Regions from separate parts of the Homo sapiens genome. Here region 1 is linked to region 2. The links are contacts of gene promoters, found by promoter capture Hi-C in blood cells and fetal thymus (Javierre and others, 2016). All regions are on one chromosome and are shown on one strand. The core of a region is centred on a gene start or on the middle of the fragment in contact, and the rest is flanking DNA. Distances in the headings are between cores, read along the strand shown. Region 1 overlaps VSTM1 (V-set and transmembrane domain containing 1). Region 2 holds the start of PRKCG (protein kinase C gamma).

Region 1 (4,336 bases), core at 1,806-4,305, 160 kb before region 2:
TTTGTTTTTGTTTTTGTTTTTTTGAGACGGAGTCTTGCTCTGTCGCCCAGGCTGGAGTGCAGTGGCACAATCTCAGCTCACTGCAACCTCCGCCTCCCAGGTTTAAGTGATTCTTTTGCCTTAACCTCCTGAGTAGCTGGACCTACAGGCGCCCGTCACCATGCCTAGCTAATTTGTGTATTTTTAGTAGAGAGGGGGTTTCACCATGTTGGCTAGGCTGGTCTCGAACTCCTGACCTCAGGTGATCCACACGCCTCAGCTTCCCAAAGTGCTGGGATTACAGACTTGAGCTACTGTGCCTGGCCCCGTTCTTCTTTTGATGGACATTTGTGTTGTCTGCACCTCTTGGCTAAAGCGAGTAATGGTGCTGGAACACTGTGGTAGGAGTATCTGTTTGTCTCCGCGCTGTAAATTATCTTGAGTATGTACCTAGAAGTGGATTTGCTAGGACATATGGTGACTATTATGTTCAACTTTTTGAGGAACTGCCAAATCATTTTCCATTGTGGCTGTATCATGTTATATTCCTTCCAGTAATATATGTGGGTTCCAATATCTCCACATCCTTGTCAACACTTACTTTTCTTTTTTTAAATTATAGCCATCCCAGTGGGTATTATATAATTTCTTAAAATGTACTTTTTGAGTTCAAATTTGTATCATCACAATTCTAAACAGAATAAAATATCTTTGCCGGGCGCAGTGGCTCACGTCTGTAATACCAGGACTTTGGGAAGATGAGGCAGGAGGATCACTTGAGCCCAGGGGTTCAAGACCAGCCTGGACAACTTGGTAAGATCCCATCTCTACAAAAAATACAAAAATTAGCCAGGCGTGGTGGTGTGCACCTGTAGTCCCAGCTACTTGGGAGGCTCAGGCAGAAAGATCGTTTGCGCCCAGGAGGTTGAGGCTTCAGTGAACTGTGATTGCGCCACAGCACTCCAGCCTGGGTGACAGAGCGAGACCCTGTTTCAGTAAATAAATAAAATAAAAGTAAAATATCTGTAAGCACAGGTATGATGTCCCCAGCCTGTATTTATATGCCTAAAACACACTAGAAAACGACTCTATGTTCAATCGCAATGTAGAGAATGAAGATGAATTTTATCACACAAGACTTGACTTTCTTTCTGGTGCCTGTGCCTCCATTTATGCCCCGTGTCAGGCTGTATCTTGTTGCTCACGCTGACTTTAGTAGCGTAGCAAGTTATGATTTATTCTGGCAATTTGCAAATACTGATGCAACATTTGGCCAGGATCTGTGGACATCTCAGGGTGAACCCAGTTCAGCTGATTATGGGGTCATATGAAGATGAGAATTTTGCAATAATGTACTTCTCATTTCTAGTGAATTGCTGTGTGAAAGATACCGTAGGCTGGAAAAGGGGAGAACAGAAAGGACAAGGCAAGGCTGCTGTTTCTCTGCTTCCATCTGGGGAAACTGAGAGTCCAGGAGCAGCTGTTCCTGCCCTGTTTTCATAAGTCCTTGGAGATGCACTGATAGAATTGTTGCTTATGGCCAGGCATGGTGGCTTATGTAATCCCAGCACTTTGGGAGGCCAAAGTGGGCAGAACACTTGAGCTCTGGAGTTTGAGACCAGCCTAACCAACATGGTGAAACCTCATCTCTACTAGAAATATAAAAAATTAGCGGGGTGAGGTGGCGGGTGCTTGTAATCCCAGCTCCTTGGGAGGCTGAGGCAGGAGAATTGCTTGAACCCCAGAGGGGGAGGTTCCAAAGCCGAGATTGTACCACTGCACTCCAGCCTGGGAGACAGAGTGAGACTGTCTCAAAAAAAAAAAAATTGTTGCTTTTGAGGGGTTCTCTGATTCAGCTCCACCAGAAGCAGGCTCTTAGACAGCATTAGTGTGAAAGTGACGTTTTATTTTATTTATTATTTATTTAGTTTTGAGACAGAGTTTCGCTCTTGTTGCCCAGGCTGGAGTGCAATGGCGTGATCTTGGCTCACTGCAACCTCCGCCTACCAGGTTCAAGAGATTCTCCTGCCTCAGCCTCCCAAATAGCTGGGATTACAGGCATGCACCACCACACCCAGCTAATATTCTATTTTTAGTAGAGACGGGGTTTCTCCATGTTGGTCAGGCTGGTCTCGAACTCCTGACCTCAGGTGCTCTGCCTGCCTCGACCTCCCAAAGTGCTGGGATTACAGGTGTGAGCCACCACGCCTGGCTTGAAAATTACATTTTAGGGAGTGGGGAAGAAGGGCTGGGAGGAAAATAGATTAAACAAGTGTGGGATATCTGTGTCCCTCAGATGGTATCTTTGGCTCCATCCTGCAGAAAGCAGTGGAGACAGAGAAGGTCGAAGACCAGAGGCTAGGGAGCTGGGGTCCCCACAGCCGTCAGTGGCAGTTTGTCCCGGGCATGTAAATTCCAAGGCATTTGGAGTTCTCCCAGGCAGTCCCCCAAAGAAGAGATACAAATGTTCACTTTGGAAAGGGAAAGAAGCCACGATCTAGAATGCATAAAAATGGGAAAGGGATCTGGGGAACATGGGTTGAGGAACATTGACAGAATCTATTACAGAGAGAGATGGGTGTAGGTGGAATATTGGGTGAAAAAAAATCATCATTATACCTACAATCCCATTATCCGACACAATGAGTCAGTTTCTAGACTGAGCGCTTTAAAGCCAGGATTTTTCATCATTACCTAACTCTTCAAGTTAGATATTATTAGCTCTCTGCCCCCTCCTTATATTTAACCAAAAAATAACGTATTCCAGAAAGGGAAGGGAACATTTACAAAGTCAGGAGGTAGGAGACCCAGTACTAGAACTCAAATATGTCTTGTTTCAAACTCCCCACTCCTTTTGCTGCTCCCTGATGATCAGCTCAGAAAGAACCTTATTTCAGGGAGGGGGATAGATAGATAATTAGATGTGATAGATAATAGGCAAGTAGGCAGATAAATAGATAACTAGATATGATAGATTAGATAGATACATAGATGATAGGTAGATAAGTAGCTAGATACGATGGACAGATTAGATAGATAGACAGATGATAGGTAAGTAGGTAGATAGATAACTAGATACAACAGGTTAGATAAGTAAGTAGATAGATAACTAGATATGATAGATTAGATAGATAAATAGACGATAGGTAAGTAGGTAGATAGATACAGATAGATTAGCTAGCTAGCTAGATGATAGATAACTAGATATAATAGATAAGATAGATGATTAGATAGACAGATAATTAGATATGATTGATAGATACATTAGATAGATGATAGATTAGATAGATAGATGATAGGTAACTAGGTAGCTAGATAAAGCTAGCTAGATAGATAGATAGATATACAGATACACAGATAGATACATAGATACCTAGATAGGTGATAGAGTTGCAAGATAGAAAAATTAGATAAGTAGGTGGATAGATAGATAGATAACTAGATAGAATAGATTAAATAGATAATAGTAGGTGAATAGACAGATACATACAGATGATAGATGATAGATGATAGATAACTGGTTATGATTGATAGATACATTAGATAGATGATAGATTTGGTAACTAGATGATAGGTAAGTCGGTAGATAGATAAGTGATAATTAGATATGATAGGATGGATAGATTAGACAGACAGCAGGTAAGCAGGTGGATAGACAGATAAAGATAGATACATAGATGCCTAGATAAGTGATAGATTAACAAGATAGAAAAATTAGACAGACAGATAGTTAATTACATATGATAGGATAGATAGATTGGATAGGTGATAGGCAAGTAGGTAGATAGATAAATCATAATTAGATAGGACGGATAGATTGGATAGATGATAGGTAAGTAGGTACAGAGACAGATAAAGATAGATAGGTAGATAGATAATAGATACCTAGACAGATGGTAGATAGATTAGCGAGATAGATAAATTAGATAGGTAATTCTCTATATATAGATATGTAGAAATGCCAATGCAAACATAGCGAACCAAGTAGGGGAAGCGTCTGGATGGGAGACCCTCTGTTGGTGCAGAGGACCAGGCGTGTGAAGCATCTCAGACTTGGCTCTGTAATGTGACCACAGATCATTGCACACCTAGGAAAAATTCTCAGACTCAAAGCACACTAACAAAGATAGCGGGGGTCTTGGTGAAGCCCCTTTCTGGGGCCTCACTTCTATAGTTGCTCAACTTTTTTCCTTAATCACGTTTCTGCTACTTACTCCTTAAAGTCTCACGACTTGTGTTTCTTGAATCTAAAGTGCCAAGAAAAACAAAAAACGGGGGGGAACTGCATGGACTCTGTCGCCTAGCTTTAGTAACAGGTTGCTCTCTCTTCCTCAACGCTGTGAGCTTTGGACACAAC
Region 2 (4,676 bases), core at 250-2,749:
CTCACTCTGTTCTCAGCAGTAGCAGCTGGTGCTCAAGGACTCGCCCCCCTCTCCCGCCCCCCAGAACTGCCGGCCCCGCCCGGCCCCCACTCGCCCATTGGTGACCCCACCCGGCCTGCCCCTGCCTAGGACGGCTGGTGTTGTCATGGCGACGGCAGCCTGGGGTGGGGGGGGGCTCTGACTTTGCATCTCCAGCCCCCTCCCCCTTCCCCCCTTCAGCTCCCCTTTTCCAAATCTCCATGTTCCCATGGCAACAGATTCTCCAAATATCTGTCCCCACCTGGAGCCGGCCGAGGGAGGGGCCCCCAGCACCACCTCCGCGGTGGCCCCACCATCAAAGCTCCCTCCCCACCACAGGCTGTGTCTCTGCCACACCCCCCGCCCCGGGCTCCCCCGCGCCTCTCTGGGGACCAGAGAACACGTGTGTCAAGCAGCCTCAGCTGTGGGGCCCCAGCCTCCACCCTCCTGAGGGTCCCAGGAGCCCCGGTCCCCAGCTCTTACCTTGACATTGCAGGCCCTGCTTTCCGATACCCCTGGAAGAGTCAGGGATCCTAGGTCAGTGCAGAAAGGGGTACCTGGACCCCCAACCTCTGCGAGCCACAGGGGGCCTGCGCTCTCTGACCCTCCTCCCGCAGGGCCCAGGTGTCCAAGCCCCGGCCACCTCCTCTTTCTAGAACCCAGAAATTTTGGCCCCCAGCCCTTCTTCCCTTAGACTGGAGTTCAGCCCCCAGTTTCTTCCTCCTTCAGACCCAGGAATCCAGGCTCCCAGCCCCCCAGGCCCTTCCTCCCTCAGACCCAAGACTCCAGGACCTCTGTCCTCCAGCCTCCTCCTCCCTCGGACCCAGCACTCCAGGAACCAGCCTCCTCCTCACTGAAACCCAGGAGTCGAAGCTCCCAGCGTTCCCTGGCCATCCTAGAACCTGGGAGTCGGGACTACAGCCCCCTCCTTCTTCCTTCCACAGGGGTCGGCGTGATAGGAGTCTGCACCCCTAGTCCCCTCGTCCCCCAGTCCCCCAGCCCCCTTCCCTCACCAGATGAAGTCGGTGCAGTGGCTGCAGAAGGTGGGCTGCTTGAAGAAGCGAGCGGTGAACTTGTGGCTCTTGACTTCGTGGACCACCTTCTGCCTCAGGGCCCCCTTTCTGCAAAACAGGGGCCGGGGTCCCCCCTCTGAATCGCCTACGCCGGGGCCCAGACCAGCCATGGCCCCAGAAACGTAGCAGGGACCAGGATCCTGCCTTTCTTGGGGGAAACAGGTGGAAGGGAGAGGAGCTGGAGACTCGAAGGATCAAAGGAGCCACAGGGAAATTCCGAGGTGGGCAGGAGAGGGGCAAGGCACCTCCAGGTGCGGAGCGCGCCAGGCAGGGAGCGGCACCCCGGGCGCGCCGGCTCCGCCAGGGGGAGCGGGCGAGTGGGGAGGAAGAGCCAAAGGCAGGGGCGCCGGCAGCCGGAGGCACGGGCGGCGGCGGTGGGAGCTCCAGCTCCGGCACCTGCTGAAATGTGGGAGCCCCGGGTTGGGGGAGGCGTTGCCAGGACGACCGAGAGGGCGGGGTTTCGGCTTAAAGGCGCTCCCCTCCCGGAGACACGGGACAAATGTCCTCCCTCCCCGCCCCCCACACGTGCACACACCCACTCCGGGGGCTGGCTGGAGGGAGGGGCATCCTCTGAGCCTGGCTCCCCCCCACCACCCTGCAATCTGTCATCCTGCCCCGCGTTCCTCCCCCACTAGGGTGCCTCGTGTGTCCTGTGGGCGCCCTGGGGTCCCTGTGTCTGACCCTGCCCCTCTCCTTCCTTCAACAAACTTTATGCTCCACGCTAGGGGTCCAGCAGTGGACAGGCAGGGCGCTAAGGTTCTCACTTTCTCCGATGCCGGCTGAGTCTTTATTTCCTCCCCTGGCCTCTCCATTATTTGTGTAGCTCTCTGCCTGCGTGTGTCTTTCTTGTGACCTCTGTCCCTCTCCCTCTATTCCTGGAGCGAGCTTTCTCGATGTGTCTCTGTTTCTGCCTCTCAGTGGATCTGTTTTCTTTTCCCTGTCTCCGAGAAATGCTGTTTCTATTTCTTTCTATTTCTCTATTTCCTCTGCTGTGTGTCTCCATCTGTATCTGTCGCCATCTCTGGGTCTTGGTGTCGTGGTTCTTCTCGGGGTCTTGGTCTGCCTCACTGTGAATCAGTCTCCCTCTGTCTCTCCCTCTACGTCTGATAAATTCTTCCGCCTCTGTCTCCCTGAGTTTGTTTCTTTCCCTGTCTTTGTCTCTCTGGCTCTGTGAATCTCTATTCTCTCTCAGGCTGTGACTCTGTCTCCCCCTCCCTCTGCAACTTGATCTCTTTGGGAGTCCGTCTCTGTCTTCCTCTCTGGGAGTCACTCTCTAAATGCTTGCCCCTGTCTCTCCCTCTCTCTCCTCACCTCCACCCGTCTTTATAAATGCCTTTGTCTCTGTCTCTCTCCCTTCCTCCGGTTCTGCAACTCCGTCTCTGTTTTTGTTTGTCTCTTCCTATATCTCTCTGGTTCCATCTGTTTCTCTGTACTTGTCCCTCTCTGGCTCTGTTGATCTCTCTCTCTCTCTCTGATGCTAGGGGGGTCTCTCTCCTGTCTATGACTCAGTCTCTCTCTCCCTCTTCTCTTCTCTGTCTCTGTCCCTTTCTCTCTGACCCAATCTCTCTCCCTCTTCTCTTCTCTGTCTCTGTCTCTGTCCCTTTCTCTCTGACCCAATCTCTATTTGTCTCTCTGGCTCTATGAATCTCTTTCTGTTTCTGGGGATCTCCCCGTCCCTCTGTGTCTGTGATTCACTCTCCCTGTGTCTCTGGCTCTCTGAATCTATTCATCTCTCTGACTCTCTGAATCTGTGTCTCTGGCTCTATGAATGTCTATGTCTCTCTGACTCTGAATCTGTGTCTCCGGCTCTATGAATGTCTCTCTATGTCTCTCTGACTCCCTGAATCTGTGTCTCTGGCTCTATAAATCTATGTCTCTCTGACTCTGAATCTCTCTGTGTCTCCGGCTCTATGAATGTCTCTCTATGTCTCTCTGACTCTGAATCTCTCTGTGTCTCTGGCTCTATGAATCTCTATGTTTCTCTGACTCTGAATCTCTCTGTGTCTCTGGCTCTATGAATGTCTTTCTATGTCTCTCTGACTCTCTGAATCTCTGTGTCTCTGGCTCTATGAATCTCTATGTCTCTATGAATCTCTGTGTCTCTGGCTCTATGAATCTCTTTCTATGTCTCTCTGACTCTCCGAATCCCTCTGTGTCTCTGGCTCTATGAATCTCTCTGTTTGTCTCTTTGGCTCTGTGAATCTCTGTGATTCAGGCTCTCTGAATCTCTCTATATGTCTATGAATCTCTCTGTGTCTCTGGCTCTATGAATGTCTCTCTATGTCTCTCTGACTCTCTGAATCTCTGTGTCTCTGGCTCTATGAATCTTTCTATGTCTCTCTGACTCTCCGAATCTGTGTCTCTGGCTCTATGAATCTCTCTGTTTGTCTCGTTGGCTCTGTGAATCTCTGTGATTCAGGCTCTCTGAATCTCTCTATATGTCTCTATGAATCTCTCTGTGTCTCTGGCTCTCTGAATCTCTGTCTCTGGCTCTAGGAATCTCTGTCGAGGGTCTCTAGATAGAGACTTCCCTCTCTGTGTCTCTGTGATTCAGTCTCTCTCCCTCTTCCCTTTTCTGTGTCTCTCTCTCTGTCCCCTTCTCTGACCCACTCCATGTGTCTATCTGGCCCTGTGAGTCTCTCTCCATCTCTGAGGTCTCTCCCTCTCTCCCTGTGTCTCTGTGATTCAGTCTCTCTCCCTCCTGTCTTTTCTATGTCTCTGTCCTCTGTCCTCTTCTCTGACCCACTCTACGTGTCTCTCTGGCCCTGTGAATCTCTCTGTCTTTGAGGTCTCTCCCTCCCTCTAAGTGTCTCTGTGATTCAATCCCTGTCTCCCTCTCTCTAGATCTCGCTGGCTTCGGCATCCTCTCTGTGCGCCCCCTCTCAGGAAAGGGGTCTCTCCAAGGGCCGGCGCGGTCAGTCTCTTCCGGCCTCCACACCTCTTGGTCGCTCTACCCGCGTCCCCGCCTCTCTCTGGTCGGGCTCTGCGCCTCCCCGGCTCGGGAGCGCTTCCCAGTCCCCGCTCCCGGGAGACCCTCTCTGTTGCCAGGGGCAACCACGGCCCGCCCCGGGCTGCGGGCGCAGTGCATTCTGGGACTGGTAGTCCGAGCCTGCGGACCAGCCACTCTCGGGACACGACCGAGAACTCCGCCTCCCGGCGTGCCCCGCGAGGCTGGGCGGGACGCTGCGGCGGCGCCTGGGAGGGACTCTGGACGCCCAGCTTACCTTCTCTGGGACTTTTCAGGGGTTCGGGGCGGGTTTCCTGGGATTCCCAAAGCCGAAGGGAAGGTGGGGGAATCCGAGTCCTCTTGTAACCACTCTCCCTAAATGTGGAGTCCACTGGCCTTCCAGCCACCTCCAGGTGACCTAGGGCGAAGGATAGGCGGCGGGGATGGCCCCGAAACCGACCTAGGAATCCCACCACGTTCTAGTCCAGTGTCCTTGAGTTCTTTCCCGAGTTAACCAACGTATCACCCCAGAGTTCTATAGCTGTTCTTTCGGATGCCTTCCAGAAGGGATTCAGGCATGGGATGGGAGAGAAGGGTGGGCGAGGCGTCCTTTAAGAAGACAGCGATGGAGTGGGTTG

Evidence for each region. Contacts are between HindIII fragments. The CHiCAGO score rates a contact against its expected background, and 5 or more counts as called.
Region 1: a fragment that was not itself captured here is called in contact with the fragment with the promoter of PRKCG in region 2 in 1 of 17 cell types (monocytes); the score reaches 5.3 in monocytes.

Annotation. Positions count from the first base shown.
Region 1 is chr19:54,044,771-54,049,106 of GRCh38, reverse strand. The region is part of intron 4 of VSTM1 (V-set and transmembrane domain containing 1); the gene reads left to right. Among named protein-coding and RNA genes, the nearest start is that of VSTM1, 17 kb to the left of the region's middle. The HindIII fragment of the contact is 7,023 bases long and covers 1-4,336 here.
Region 2 is chr19:53,879,020-53,883,695 of GRCh38, reverse strand. It overlaps PRKCG (protein kinase C gamma), which reads right to left and starts at 1,499. Exons shown (of 18, transcript NM_002739.5): 1 at 1,032-1,499; 2 at 502-533. The coding sequence starts at 1,201. RefSeq lists an enhancer at 496-1,047. The HindIII fragment of the contact is 17,886 bases long and covers 1-4,676 here.